Linked DNA regions of Homo sapiens: regions 2 and 3 are each linked to region 1. The links are contacts of gene promoters, found by promoter capture Hi-C in human tissues and cell types (Jung and others, 2019). All regions are on one chromosome and are shown on one strand. Each heading gives the region's core, a stretch centred on a gene start or on the middle of the fragment in contact. The rest is flanking DNA. Distances are from core to core; before and after follow the strand shown.

The links. The method cuts DNA at HindIII sites, captures the fragments that hold promoters and counts their contacts. A contact is called where the count stands out against the background at its distance.
Region 2: a contact is called between a fragment that was not itself captured here and the fragment with the promoter of PPP4R2 in region 1, in 1 of the 25 tissues and cell types used here (lymphoblastoid cells).
Region 3: a fragment that was not itself captured here is called in contact with the fragment with the promoter of PPP4R2 in region 1 in 1 of the 25 tissues and cell types used here (lymphoblastoid cells).

What each region holds. Positions count from the first base shown.
Region 1 is chr3:72,993,789-72,998,792 of GRCh38, reverse strand. It overlaps PPP4R2 (protein phosphatase 4 regulatory subunit 2), which reads right to left and starts at 1,982. Exons shown (of 9, transcript NM_174907.4): 1 at 1,722-1,982; 2 at 635-716. The coding sequence starts at 1,755. It overlaps LOC124909395 (a long non-coding RNA gene), which reads left to right and starts at 1,602. Exons shown (of 2, transcript XR_007095961.1): 1 at 1,602-1,686; 2 at 4,871-5,004. RefSeq lists enhancers at 998-1,047, 2,308-2,357 and a silencer at 1,498-2,127. The HindIII fragment of the contact is 8,748 bases long and covers 1-5,004 here.
Region 2 is chr3:71,937,574-71,942,577 of GRCh38, reverse strand. No RefSeq gene overlaps it. Among named protein-coding and RNA genes, the nearest start is that of PROK2, 150 kb to the right of the region's middle. RefSeq lists a silencer at 4,274-4,323. The HindIII fragment of the contact is 3,696 bases long and covers 575-4,270 here.
Region 3 is chr3:71,989,579-71,994,582 of GRCh38, reverse strand. It overlaps LOC105377157 (a long non-coding RNA gene), which reads right to left and starts at 884. Exons shown (of 2, transcript XR_940957.3): 1 at 799-884; 2 at 1-174. The HindIII fragment of the contact is 8,690 bases long and covers 1-5,004 here.

The DNA.
Region 1 (5,004 bases), core at 733-3,232:
GTTCCTTCTGAACACAGCCCTAACTTTATAGCGTAAGTTTCAGATTCAGAACATTTGGAAACGAGCTGAATAAAATGCTGAGCATATGTAACAAGTCAGCTATCTTAGAAAGTCTACAAGTCAAAACTGTAGCATCTGGAATTTGTCAGATAATAACAGAGTCCTCCAGACGATAAATAGAAGTGACACTTTAAACACCTACATATGCAAATATGACCAAAAAAAGGCTGGACACACGACAATATGAGAAAATACCACCAAGACTCTGAAACAGAATCAAAGCCACAAAATTCTAGGAATAAGCCTATTTGTTATGGCCAAAAAGGGTCATAATGGAATAGGCATTCTTCCTTTCTCTGGCTCGTTAAGACTAATACATTCTCTAAGCGTGCCAAAGCCTAGCTATAAAGAAAATTTTAACATACACAGGTTTTTAAAATCCGTTACAGACCATGTATAAAGTAAGTAAGCGTATACGTTCTTTAAATGTAAATATATAAATTATTTAAATGACCAGGACTTCTACAATTTAGAATGAATTATTTAATTATCCCAAAATATACTTTTTTCCCTTTCCTGAGCAATTCTTAATAATGCACTGGTCTATAACGACAAATGCATGTTTTCAACTCACATTGTTTCTCCAGTCTTGGCTACATGACAAAGAAACTGATCCAGGACAGGACAAACTTCCTTTTTCCCCCTCTTCTCAAAATCTAGATGAAGGAAGAAAAAAAAACGTTATCAGTTTTCTCAAAAGCGCTCTAAAAACAAACTTTCCTCCTAGTCCTTTACCTTATTAAAAATCAATTAAATACAAAATTAAAAAAATAAGGCCTCTCAACCAAATTACCACCTCAATCCTCCAAGTTCTACTTCCAACATGTCACCCTCTTTACAGATAACAAGAATCCTCCTAAAGGGGGCACTCAACTTCACAAACCATTTTTAACGCAGTGCTTCTCGAAGTGTGGTCCGGGGGAACACCAGCATTATATTAAGCTGGGAATCCAGTGAAAATAAAAATCCCCAGGCCCCGACTCCCACCAATTGTTCATCTAAGTCCATAAATCTGCCTTTCTAAGAAGCACCAACTACCCCAAGTTGCCGTCCCCAAATGATTCTGAATGTCAAAGAATAATTCTCAAAACGCTGAAATCTCTCTACTCGAAGTTTGTAAGCCACTGTTCTCAAGCCTGTTGCGTGGAAGGCGTGCAATCAAGAACAGTGAAGGCAACCACCTCGAAATTAGGGCGCGGAAAGATGACTTCAAAAGCCCTGAAAAAGGCATACTGAGACAACTTAAAAGTTGCGATGCTACCCCCTACCCCCGCCCCCACCAACCGTTTACTTTTTCTCCCACCCCAACGCCTAGCGTACGGGTAGCCTGGTGGAGAAAAGAGGATATCTGGGAGGGAGGGGTCTGCGGGTCCGCCACTCGTCCCCTGAACGGGTGGGAGAAAGACTGGGGCCCCCGCAAGAGTTTCCCCGGCTCCCCTCCCCCAGCCCAGACGCCGGCGGCCGACACAAAGCCAGAGCGGGGCGGGAGAGAGCTGCCCACAGGGCTCCCCGCCCCTGGGGAGGTGGAGGGGGATGGGAGCCCGGGAAGCACTCTCCCCACGCCGCGCCCGGCCCCGGTCCTCGGAACCATCCGCCCTGAAAGGAGAGAAGAGCGAGCCGGAGAAGGTGAGGGGGAATGGAGAGGGGGCAGCTACCCCCACCTTTCAGCGCCTCCTGGAGCCTCTCGACGTCCATGGCTTCCCGGAGTCCCTCACAGCCTCCGCCTCCCTCCGCGGGTCTCTTGGGGACCGGAACGCCTCCCCCCACCCCCCCGACGCCCTCCCCCTCCCTCGCACACACTCCGGCACGCAGGCGACCGGGGGGGGGAAACGAAGGGAGCCGGGGGAAGCGTGCGAGAGAGCAAGACCGACAGAGCGAGCACCTCCCCAAGCCGCTACCACCAACCCTCCAACATGGCGCCCGGTACGTCACCGCGCGCACGCTCCCTGCCGCCGTCCTCGCTCCCGCCGCGCGCTCCGGCCCGGAACCCGAGAGCGCGTGCGCGGCCGAGGTGTGACGCTGGGGCCCAGTGGCGTCTGCGTCCCGGCGGCTTCCAGAGCCTCAGCCCCAGCCCCAGCCCCAGGCCCAGGCTCCGCGGAGCTGAAGACTGGACGGTCAGGCGAGAGGGTTGCAGGCGGACTCCTAGGCTTTGAATCCCTGCCATTTCCTCTCTGTGTGAACTTAAGCTACTTACTTCGCCTGTCTGAGCCTCATTTTCCCCATCTGTACAGTAAGGGCACTGGTACTGATGCCCTATGCAGTTGCTGTGAGAATTCAGTGTATACACTTCACGTTCAGAATGCGCCTAAAAAACGTAGAGCGAGGCCGGGCAGGGGGCTCAGGCCGGTGATCCCAACACTTTGGGAGGGAGGCCGAGGCGAGAGGATCGCTTGAGCCCAGGAGTTCGAGACCAGTCTGGGTAACAAAATGACCCCGCTCCCTCGCCCTTCTCTATATAAAAATAAATACAGGCCGGGCGCGGTGACTCAAGCCTGTAATCCCAGCACTTTGGGAGGCTGGGGCGGGCGGAGCACCTGAAGTCAGGAGTTGAAGACCAACCTGGCCAACATGGCGAAACCCCGTCTCTACTAAAAATACAAAATGTAGTCGGGCGTGGTCGCTCGTGCCTGTAATCCCAGTTACTCGGGAGGCTGAGGCACGAGAATCGCTTGAATCCAGGAGGCGGAGGTTGCAGTGAGCCGATATCGCGCCACTGCCTCCAGCCTAGGCGACAAAGCGAGACTGTTTCAAAAAAATAATAATAAAATTAACAATACATACATACACTAAGCATTGCTAATAATCCTAACAAGAATACCTCCCTGCTTAACCCAACGTTCGTTCGTCACTGGCCCACCTGTGGCAAGAAGTAATGTATACAGCAAAGTCATTAAGAGCTCAAGGTTTGGAATCAATATTCAAATCCCAACTCAACTACTTACTCCTTGTGTGGCCCTGAAGTAGTTACCTAAACTCAGGCAGCTTCAGGGTTCTTATTTATAAAATGAGGGTTGTAAAACGGCCACGAGGATTGAGTGAAATGGCAAATGTGAAACATTTGGCACAGTGCGTGAAACCTGGAACACTCAACGTGGCTGGGTTTTTATTACCACTGTTAGCATTATTACATGACATAATCTCCCAGGAGGTAGGAGAGGGCGGAAACCTCAGAAGTCCTCTGCAGCCCTGACATTTTACAAATGGGAAAGCTGTGTCACAGACAGCAAGTCTGGGGAGACAGAACTAGAACCCAGAACCCAAATCATCTGGCTCCCAGCCAGTGCGTGGACATTTTTATACTCATCTGTGAGCTTTTAAAAGAAAAGGTACTGCCCGGGCACGGTGGCTCACACCTGTATTCCCAACACTTCGGGAGTCTGAGGCAGGCGGATCACCTGAGGTCAGGAGTTTGATACCAGCCAGGCCAACATGGCAAAACCCTGTCTCTGCTAAAAATACAAAAAAAAAAAAATTAGCTGGGCTTGGTGGCGGGCACCTGTAATCGCAGCTACTCGGGAGGCTGAGGCAGGAGAATCCCTTGAACCCTGGAGGCTGAGGTTGCAGTGAGCCGAGATACTCCAGCCACTGTACTCCAGCCTGGGCACGACAGAATGGGACTCCGTCTCAAAAAAAAAAAAAAAAAAAAAAAAAAGAGAGAGAGAGAAAGAAAAGAAAAGGTACTGCGTTGTTCCACCTCCTCTTCCCAAAACCCAGCATAGCACAAAGTCATGGAAGGAAGGAGGGGAGAGAAGGACCAAGGGAGGGAAGGAAGGTTATTGTTTGGTCTAAGAAGATGCAAGTTTGGACACAGCCTTTACACTGTTGACCCTCTTAAAAGACAGTGGGTCTGACCCTGATCCTAGGTGGTAGATGTAGGCAAAAGACATTCACACCCAAAATAGCTCTCTCAAATTGTGCCATCAGAGAACCAGTCCCCTGTGTCTTTAGACCTTCGTTGTTCAGAGCATCTAGCTCAATTACAAATATCCTTGCAGAGAGAGGGAATAGGGTAGCACATCAAGCACTTGGCCAGCACTTGCCAGGCACCAGGTTTAGTTTATCCAGGTCCCTTCCAGTCTGAAAGGGCCTACTGCCTACATGGCAAAGCTTAGCCTCTCCTTCTATCTGCCACTCTACTATTCAGAAGGGTCTCTTACTGTAAGAGCTCTGCTGTACAGTAGATATTAGCCATGTGTGAATATTGAAATTTAAATTAATTAAAATTAAATAAAATTTAAAATTCAGTTCCTGAGTTCTTCAATAAAAATCCAATTCTTTTTTTTTTCTTTTTTCTTTTCCTTTTTTTTTTTTTGAGACGGAGTCTTGCTCTGTCGTCCAGGCTGGAGTGCAGTGGCGTGATCTCAGCTCACTGCAACCTGTGCCTCCCGGGTTCAAGCAGTTCTCTGCCTCAGCCTCTCGAGTAGCTGGGATTACAGGCTCCCACCACCACGCCCAGCTAATTTTTGTATTTTTAGTAGAGACGGGGTTTCACCATATTGTCCAGGCTGGTCTTGAACTCTGGACCTTGTGATCCACCCGCCGCAGCCTCCCAAAGTGCTGGGATTACAGGTGTGAGCCACCGCCCCTGGCCTAAAAATCCAATTCTTTGGTCACACCAGCCACATTTTAAGTGCTCAGTAGCTACATGTGGCTAGTGGCTCCTGTATTGGATAGTTCAGATAAAGAAAATTTCATTATTGCAAAAAGTTCTATTGGAACTTTCTGTTGGAGAACACATTATGCTAATTTCTAACACTGTTTTGTCCCTTTCATTGCTGTCAGCTTAACTGAATTTCTTATGGTTTTTCAGATCCCACCTGGTCTTCAGATAATCAAGGCTTGTGCCCCTCTGGTTAGCTCCTCCTCTCCAATGCACTTTGCTACATTCCTCTGCAAATTCAGATCTCTACTTAAACACCACTTCCTCTGGTACACTTTCCACGA
Region 2 (5,004 bases), core at 1,173-3,672, 1.1 Mb after region 1:
CTGAGGGACATGCTTCCTTGCCTTTTGGGTGGGATCCCTCTGAGTCCTGCTTTACACGGTCTCCTAAGTTCTGTCCAGTATGACACAGCCTCAGTTGTCCATAGTAGAAAGCTGATCAATAACACACCCTTTTTCAGCTGCCCTCCCTCACCATTAGACTCTCCATGCCCAGACAATGACTCTTGGGATCACCTCCCAGTGAACTACTTACATTCAAATCCTTGTCTCAGGGCCAGCTTCCAGAGGCACCCGACCTAAGACATGTAAGAAATGACAAAGTTGAAGGCCAGTCACAGTGGCCCATGCCTGTAATCCCAGCACTTTGGGAGGCTGAGGTGGGTGGATCACTTGAGGTCAGGAGTTTGAGACCAGCCTGGCCAACATGGTGAAACCCCATCTCTACTAAAACTCCAAAAATTAGCTGGGGGTGGTAGCGCACGCCTCTAATCCCAGCTACTCGGGAGGCTGAGATGGAAGAATCACTTGAAGCCAAGAGGCAGAGGTTGTGGTGAGCTGAGATTGCGCCACTACACTCCATCCTGGGAAAGAAAGGAAGAAAAAAAAAAGAAGGAGGGAGGGAGGAAGGAAGGAGGAAAAGGTATGAAAAGGAAGGAAAAGGAAAGAACAGAGCTGGGATTTGAACCAGACACTGACTCCCAAGCCAGCTCTCTGAACCATGATGCCACTGAGTCTCACACAAGTCAAACCCCTGAGCATCCATGATTCTCATTTTCAAATGCAAATATACCCCACACTAATCAGACTTAGGAATGATCTGCTGTTTGGGATTGGCCACATTTCTGATCTCTCTATTCATGGAAATCATTGAGAATTCACTAAGTAAATATGAGGCAGAGGAATATTATTCAATGTTGGTTTGCATTTTCCTCCCTGCTATCAGATAGCCAGGCTCATACTTGAACTCTGGCTTGATATTTTCTGGACCAAAGAGATAGAGTTAGCCTCAAGAAAAGAGTTGGCTGCTCTGGGCTTCAGCCAGGGACTCCTGTCATGGAGGGTCGTGAGCAGGAGCAGACCAAAGCCCTGGAGAGCAGCAGGAGCCGTTGCCACATCAGTCAGCTGGAACACAACTACCCAGGCTTATTTTTCTCCTTCTCATTTGCTCTCTTGAAAGCATCAGTGCCTTCAACAGCCTCAGCGGAGTCGACTAGGAAGCCAGAAGCTCTGGGAAAATCCACCTGGCTCTGGAGAAAGCCCCAAGCTTTTCCTCCCCATCTCCCCAGAGCCCGTTTTTGTTGTTTTTTGGGACAGGGTCTCACTCTGTTACCCAGGCTGGAGTGCAGTGGCATGATCACAGCTCACTGTAGCCTTCACCTCCCAAGCTTAAGCAATCCTCCTGCCTCAGCCTCCTGAGTAACTGGAACTACAGGTGTACACCACCATAACCAGCTAATTGTTTTATTTTTTGTTTGTAAAGAGATAGAGACAGCAAGAATCTTGCCCAGTCTGGTCTCAAACTCTGGGCTCAAGCGATCCTCCTGCCTTGACCTCCCAAAGTGCTGAGATTACAGGCATGAGCCATCACACCCAGCCAAGAAACCAATTTTAGTCTTTTCCAAAAATATATGACTACACATCACTCCCACTTTTTAAAACAGAACACCTGTTAACATCTGGTAGCGTACTCATGTTTCATCAAACAGTTTGGCAATCATCATCCTAAATTTTCTAATTACTGCCTACAACAGGATTTTGCTGATACCCATCCACGCTGGGCATCCTGTTTGTGAGACAATAAAATAGGGAAGGCACCAGTCCTCCAAGTGTCTGCCAACCTTTCCAGATTGCTGGGAAGACTAAGTGAGTGATGAGTGCTGAGTGAAGTATGAAGCTTCACAGATGTCTGTTATTGTTACTGCTTGTCAACTCTCAACAGTGGTTTTGTTTTTAAGGATTGCTAATAAGGGAGCTTCTAATAACTGTGCTTGTGGGAGTGTCAGGAAGTAGACTCTGGGATACAGGGTGTGCCCCACATGCTCTTGAGGTTTATACCCAAGGAAAGGAGGAGAAGGAAGCTGGACTGGGCAGAGGGAGAAGCTGGTTTGCAATGCACCCTGTTGATGGCTAAATGCCCCCAAGGGGCACTCTGGAGCTGGGCTGGCCATTCAGCGTCAACCCTAGTTGGGATGAAGGGAATGGGCCTTTACCTCCGCACCTTGATCAGTCATTGGATACAACACCCACCTGCTGGACTCATCAGAGCCAGTCCCTGCATCGGGCTACCAGCAGTCAGGGTGTAAGTCCCTCATTCCTGAAGGGGGACTAGGTGACGCACCACAGTGTCCACAAAATAACATTCTATAAGTTTCAAGGAGATAAACATTCCATTTCTTCACCTCTTTTAGAATATCAAGTGGCAATCCAATCTAACTCTTTACTGGGGAGTTGATTCACGTCTTGCTTTCTGGAACTGACTTTTCAATACCAAACAGGTACATGTGCCAAGAGATGCCAAATCAAAGCCTTCCTTTGATATGTGGCCATTAGGGAATGCCAGATTGTCCCTTCCAATGGAACCACTTTCTCCTTTCAATTAGCTAAAGGGCCTCTCAGTAGTTTTCTTCCCCAACATACATAGACCTTGCCTTCTAAAATGGACTTCTGTACCCTTCTTCTTTGTAAGGAGTTGTGCTGGGCATTCTCCCACTTTTTCCACCCCATTCCGTGTCTCAGGTGGGACTGATCTCCAAGGCTGCATCAGTGAGCTCCCTTACTTTCCAGCTTCTATTCTGATTCAGCCAATGGGAGGCACCAATAGGAGAATGTTGAGGGGAACAGAAAGAGATTGGGTTATTTCTTCCTCCTGACTTCCTCAGTCCCTAGCCAAGGGCAGAGGCCATGCTCCTTTTTCCAAGGCCACAGTTCCTCTCAGCTCCACTGTTGGAGTCATGGCTCTTGTTAGTTCCAGAAACTGTTCCTTCCCTTTAGCCCTTCAGGACTGGATCTGTGGAAAGGGAAGCAGCTCCTCTCTGTATTAGCTGGGCTGTGCTTCCTTGTTCCTCCTCAGTTTTCCTTATACCTCCATTTGTAAGATGAATCTTTATGAACACCTCCTTAATCACCCCTTTGTGCTTTTTCTGCCAGGACCCTGACTCACACACAACCCCATCCTATTGTCCAGAAATGAAATAGTTTCACCCAGGATTTCCCAAGATTCCTGAAAGGCCAGGAACCAGACAGAATATGTATGTCTTTGTCTTTGGAGGTCTACATTGAGGTCCCTGAAGCTCAGCATTGCAGACTCTTCTCTGCTTTCTCTCTATTTTATCTTTGATCTTTAGAACAACGTTTCTCAACCATTTTAAAAGGCACACTGCCCATTCAGGATCACTCAAAGACCTGCTTTATCTGGCTCTTCTCTTTGTCCCTCCCATTATATCATTCTTCAATAAACGTCTGTGGCCAGGTGCAGTGGCTCACACCGCGAATCCCAGCACTTTGGGAGGCCAAGGTGGGAGGATTGCTTGAGTCCAGGAGTTCAAGACCAGCGTGGGGAACATGACAAGACCCTATCTCTACAAAAAAATTAAATAAATAAAATTATCCAGGTGTAGCAGCACGTGTCTGTGGTCCCAGCTACTCAAGAGGTTGAGGTGGGAGGATTGCTTGAGCCCTGGAATTTGAGGCTGCAGTGAGCTGTTGATCATGCCACTCTACTGCATCCTAAGCAACAGAGCAATACTCCATCTCAAAAATAAAAAATGTCTATAGGAAGAATTAATGAATGTCTAAGCCTCAGTTTCCTCGCTTGCAAAAATGAGGGGAATAACCCTCCTAAAAAGCTTTTAAGTTAGGTGTCATTATTAGTACAATTTTACAAAGGTAGAAATTGAAGATCAGAGAAGATAAGGATTTGCTCAAGGTCACACAGCTAGGAAAGAGCAAGATCAGAAATGGAACCAAGGGCTTCTGACTGAGTCTGGGGCTCTTGATATGGTACCACAGCCTGCTACATTTCCAGATTAATAAAAAGAAACCAGTGCACCCTCAACCACTTTAAAAGGCACACTGCCCATCCAGAATCACTCGAAGGCCCACATTATGTGGCTCTTCTCCATCTTCTCCTGAACAGTCAGGAATTGAGATTTCTGAGGGCAGATAGATTATAGATGATTGATAGATAGATATGCAGCTATATATATTATATGGTTTAACTGTGTTCCCACCCAAATCTCATCTCGAATTGTAGTTCCTGTAATCCCCACGTGTCATGGGAGGGACCAGGTGGAGGTCATTGAATCATGGGGGTGGTTTCCCCTGTTCTCATGACAGTGAGTTAGCTCTCATGAGAGCTGATGGTTTTATAAGGGGCTTCCCCCTTTGCTAGGCACTCATTCTCTCTCCTGCTACCCTGTGAAGAGGTGCCTTCCACCGTGATTGTAAGTTTCCTGAGGCCTCCCCAGCCATGTGGAACTGTGAGTTAATTAAAACTCTTTTTTAACAAAATAAGTTATGCAGTCTCTGGTGTTTCTCCATGGCAGCGAGAGAATGGGTTGATACAATATATGTTTTTTCTTTTTAATTATCCTCTAAACACACACACACACACACACACACACACACACACAGAAGAAGGCTGCCCTTAAGTTCCTCTAGGGGTGTGGGGTGAAAACATCCCCCTTCTTGTTGTCATCATGGCTCTGGAGGTCTGCTATCATGCAGCCCCTTTGTCCGTCTTTGCAATAGTTCCAGGGTCCTTACCTTACTTCCCTGAAGCTTTCATTAAAAGGGTGAGTCACATGGCTATTGAAAGGTGCAGAACATAGGTGGATTGTAATTTGAGCTACATAATTGCAAATGAACATGTTTTTAAACTCAGAACTTCAGTTTTCTCACTGTAAAATAGGAAAAGATATTTACTTCACAGGTGACAGTGAGAGTCAACTGAAAAAAAAATACCCAGTACTACGCCTGTTGTAGAGTAACTGTTCAGTAAATATTAAATCCCATCCTACCCACCTCCAGGGTTTCCCAACCACTTCC
Region 3 (5,004 bases), core at 1,359-3,858, 1.0 Mb after region 1:
ACAGCTGCTGGCAGGACGAGGAGAAAATGAGGCATGTCAGCAGATCCAGGGCGGAGTGGGAGAGAGAACCACACTGCAATCTGCACACGCCATCCTCAGCGCCAACTTCCATCCCAGGGTAACTCATCACCCAAGACAGTTACTGGAGCTCCAACTGTCACACCAAGCTCCAGGCTGCAATAAGGAAAAAGAGGGGGAGGGCAAAACGGCCTGTTGGTTAGACGAGTCAGTATCCTTTACAGGGCCTTCCTGGAAGCCCCACACACAACTTCCACTTTTTATCTCATTGACTAGAATAAGAGTCACACCCAGCTACAAGGGAAATAGGGTCATGTGGTCTTTTGGCTGAGCACTGAATTAAAAATTGGGGTCGTTACTAAGTAGGAAGGGGAAAATGGATATGGGGTGGCACCTAACGGTCTCTTTCTCTTTTCTCATTTATTTATTTATTTAGAGACACGGTCTTACTCTGTCACCAAGGCTGGAATGCAGTGGTGAGATCTTGGCTCACTGCAGCCTCAGCCTCTCAGGCTCAAGGGATCCTCCCACCTCAGCCTCCCAAGTAGCTGGGACCACAGGCATGCGCCACCACACCTGGCTAATTTTTTTGTATTTTGGGTAAAGATGGGGTTTCACCATGTTGCCCAGGCTGATCTCGAACTCCTGGGCTCAAGTGATCTTCCTGCCTCAGCCTCCCAAAGTGCTGGGATTACAGGGGTGAGCCACTTCTTCCGACCTGGCAGTCTCTTTCAAGTCGTGCCTTTTCTGTCTCCTCCTTCCCACTTTTCTGGGCCTCACCTCTTCTTCTCTAGCTCTGAGTTCCAACCTCACTTTACAGCACCCTGAAGGAGCTACCAGCCTCATTTCTGTCACCTCTGCACAAAGGGGCACTGTTTGCATCCCATTGGTGGGAGTTGGTAGAACATGCTGGTGCTGTCATGGTTGCCTTGCCCACATGTTTTCAGTTTCATGTGGTTGCAATGGATATGCTTCCTTCCTGACGCCAATTCAAGTTTCAGCCCATGTCCTGTTGCCCATTGTGCGTGGTGGTCTGTGTGTGGACACAGGCCAAATAAGTCATTCTGTAGCCTCCAGTAAGGTGACCAGGTGGCCCAGGGGGCCCGAGCTGACTTTGGTACCAAAAGCCTGTAGGGCAGGTATCTTGGAAAATGCTGTGGAGTCTCCCTTTTCCTAAGGGAAAGAGATGAAAGAAGAAGGAACTGACATTTAAGTGACTGTCACGTACTAAGTCTTGTGCTAATGATTCTCAGATGTGATCTTGTGTGATTTTGGTGCAGGAACATCAAAACTATGAGGCAGGTAGGTACTTCTCCTAGTATGAGTTCTACCCAAAGCAGACCCTGAGACAAGGACTTGGGTACACATAGTTTATTTGGGCCAGAAAGGACAAGTAAGGAAATGGTATGTTGGTAAATGTCTAACATCTGGCTGTCCAACAACAATAACAACAGGCCGGGCAAGGTGGCTTATGCCTGTAATCCCAGCGCTTTGGGAGGCAGAGGCAGGTGGATCATCTGAGGTCAGGAGTTTGAGACCAGCCTGGCCAACATGGTAGTCTCTACTAAAAATACAAAATTTAGCTGGGCGTGGTGGCAGGTGCCTGTAATTCCAGCTACTGGGGAGGTTGAGGCAAGAGAATTGCTTAAATCCAGGAGGCAGAGGTTGCAATGAGCCAAGGTCGTGCCACTGCTCTCCAGCCTGGGCAACAGAGGGAGACTCTGTCTCAAAAAAAAAAAAAAAAAAATCAATAACAACAACAACAACCTGATTTATAGCATCTAGGGATTTCCCTGGTATAAATATGACACCATAGTCAATTTTAGGTCACCATCATGACATCACTGAACACAGAGGGAAGAGATGCACACATTGATTCTCAAAAACCTATGTAAGCTGGTACCAGCACATCAAAAGGAAGAGCTAGCCAAGATAAAGCCAATGAAGCGTGCCTTAATAAGCAGGTCACTAACGTGGACACATGGAACTCACTCTCATGGGTGCACTCTGTGAAACAGCATGGAGCACACCTCAGAATCCACTCACAGGGACACTGGCACACTTACCCATCTGACTCTATTCCCTACTGATTGAAGTTAACTTTCCCCCCAGCTCCAATTAGGTCTCCAGATCTTTGAGAAAGCTCACCTAGTGCCAAAAATAAAGCCTTCCAGCAGAGAAGAGAGAGGCACAGGTATTTGAGATGGGAATTATTAGCATGCTGGAAAATGCCTTTGCCTGCAGCCGCAGGTGAATTCAGGCGGCCCAAGGGTATAGGGGATAAAGCAGCAGTAGAACTGGAATCTGCAACAGGAGGCAACACACTTTTTCTGTAAAGGACCAGACAGTAAATATTTCAGGCTTTGCATGCCACATATGGTCACTGTCACATATTTTTCAAATTTTTTATTTGCTTGTGGTTTACAAGATTTTAAACATATAAAAAACATAAAAAAACCTTCTTAGCTTGTGGGGCTGAACAAAATGAGTCTGAGGGCCACAGATTGCCAAGGCCTGTCCTACAGACCAGCAATAGCAGCACCCAGGAGCTTGCAAAAATGCAGATTCCCAGGCACCACCCCCGGTACTGAATACAATCTGCATTTTAGCAAGGTGTACACAGTAATGTTTGAGGAACACTATGCTGCTGTACTATCATTTCCATCATACAGATAAGGACACTCAGTCCTTAGAGAGGCTGAGTCACCTGATAGAAGCCGCAAAGAGCCAGGACTCAAATCCAGGCCTGACTGATCCCAAGGCCATTCTCTTCACAGGTCTGGTTATAATTGTAAATAATCTATAAAAAATTTCAATTCCCATATGATATGGTTTGGATGTTTGTCCCTTGCAAATCTCATGTTGAAATGTGATCCCCAAAATTGGAGGTGAGGCCTAGTGGGAGGTGTTTGGCTCTTAGGGGTGGAGCCCTCAAGAGTGGCTTGGTGCCAACCCCATGGTAACGAGTTCATGCACGATCTGCTTGCATGAACCAGAGTCTGGGACCTCCCTCCCCTCTCTCTTCCTCCCTCTCCCACCATGTGACACACCTGCTCCCCCTTCTCCTTCCACCATGAGTGGAAGCTTCCTGAGGCCTCACCAGAAGCAGATGCTGGTGCCACACTTCTTGTACCGCCTGCAGAACCATGAGCCAAAATAAACCTCTTTTCTTTATAAATTACCCAGCCTCAGGTACTCTTTTATAGCTATGCTAAATGGGCTAATATACCATATTTAAAGTAAGATGGCTACTTTAAAATAATATCTAAGCAATTTTGTAGTGACATCATTGGAGGAGCCCTGTACATGGGGAAATGAGTCATTTTAGCAATCCATTTACAGAAAGACAGGCGATGTGGAGCTCCAGAAAGGAGTTCCTGTGTCTGTGATGACCATCTTCCTTACACATGATCTTAGGTATCTTAGAAGCAGACCGAGTCCCTCAGTAGATTGGAACCTCCTTGAGAGCAGGAACAGGGTATTCTCTTCCCCTGATGACCTCTCAAAGGATTAGTAAATTGATTCTCTAAAGGAATGCAAACAGGAAGTGCACAGAATCCCACCACTGGTTAGACCCTAATTATACTCTTTTTTGTGTGTTGTGGGTTAGAGGTTAGCTTAAGAGATTCAACCTTGCAACTAATTCTTCCCAATGCACCAGGCTGACTGGGACTCCTACCCTGCTGTGTAGGACAGTGTCATGGTGTGGAAGTGAGGGCTTAAGTCAAGCCCAAACATGACTTCCAGACAGTCAGATCTGCTTTTTCTTTCTAGGGATTCTATTATATGCATGTTGGGTCTCATGGACATCATTTTTTTTTCTTCTTTGATTCTCACCTCTTTAATCTTTTCCACAGAGCTCTTGAAGAAGCTCTTAAGCCTATCTCTCTCTTCTGTGATCTTGGTTTTCTTCAGTGACTCAGGAAAGGCACTGCTTCTATTGTGTTTTTAATATGACACCTATAATTTTCATCTGCAGTCTTTATAGACTGGATTATGGATCTTGGATTATGTTTATTCTTCATGACAACCTGCTGTCATTTAATAGATATGATGGGTCTTTAAGTTATCTTGAAAATACTAATGATGACTTACCTAGTTTCACATGTTTTTCTTTCAAGATAAATTTGCTGTTTTCACATTGGCCCCTTTCCATTGCCACAAACAGTAAATTCTTTTTTGTTTTCTTATTTATTCAGAGAATAGCCTATATTTGCAAATTACTGAGATGGGCTAAGTTTCTTTCAGAGACTGTATTCATCCATGTCTGAATCACTGATACTCAGATGAAGGAGAAAGACCATGCAAGATAGTAATGTTAATGGGCAGGGCCCTGAAACTAGACTGCCTGGGTTCAAGTCCCAGTTCCACCACTTTCTAGCTATGTGATTTGGGGTAAGTTACTTGACTGGGCTGAACCTCAGTTTCTTCCTCCATAAAATGGAGATATTAATAATGCTGACCTCCTGGGTTTATGTCGTGAGGATTCTATGAGCCTAGATATAGGGTGCATAGAAGAGTGCCCAGCATATGGTAAGCTCAGAGAAAGTGTTAGCTGTGAAGATGATGATGACAATGATAACAGTAATAATTTTACTCCATTCATGCAGACTCCTCTGTTTGCTTTCCGAATTCATTGTTTCTGTGAAGTCAGGTCAAGCCAGTCTTTAATCTTGTCTTGAACCGTCACATTTTGCAGAAGTTCTTTAAGGTTTCTGGCATATGGCTTTAGGACTCTTCTGTGGTATAATAATGTAATAAAATTATTATTTTCTTCAGAGCAAAATCTGCCCTCCCACATAAGAAGGAGCTATTTTTCTTGGGAGATATTTTAGCTCACATTCCATAGAAAATAGAGCCTGAGATGATGCTTACCTGACCGTGCTTATTGGGGGTGCAATCACAGGCCACAAGAATAAGGGAACAAAGAAATGAGGTGGAGAAGGAAGGAACGCAAATGTAGGTGGTGCATTACCAATTGGGCTG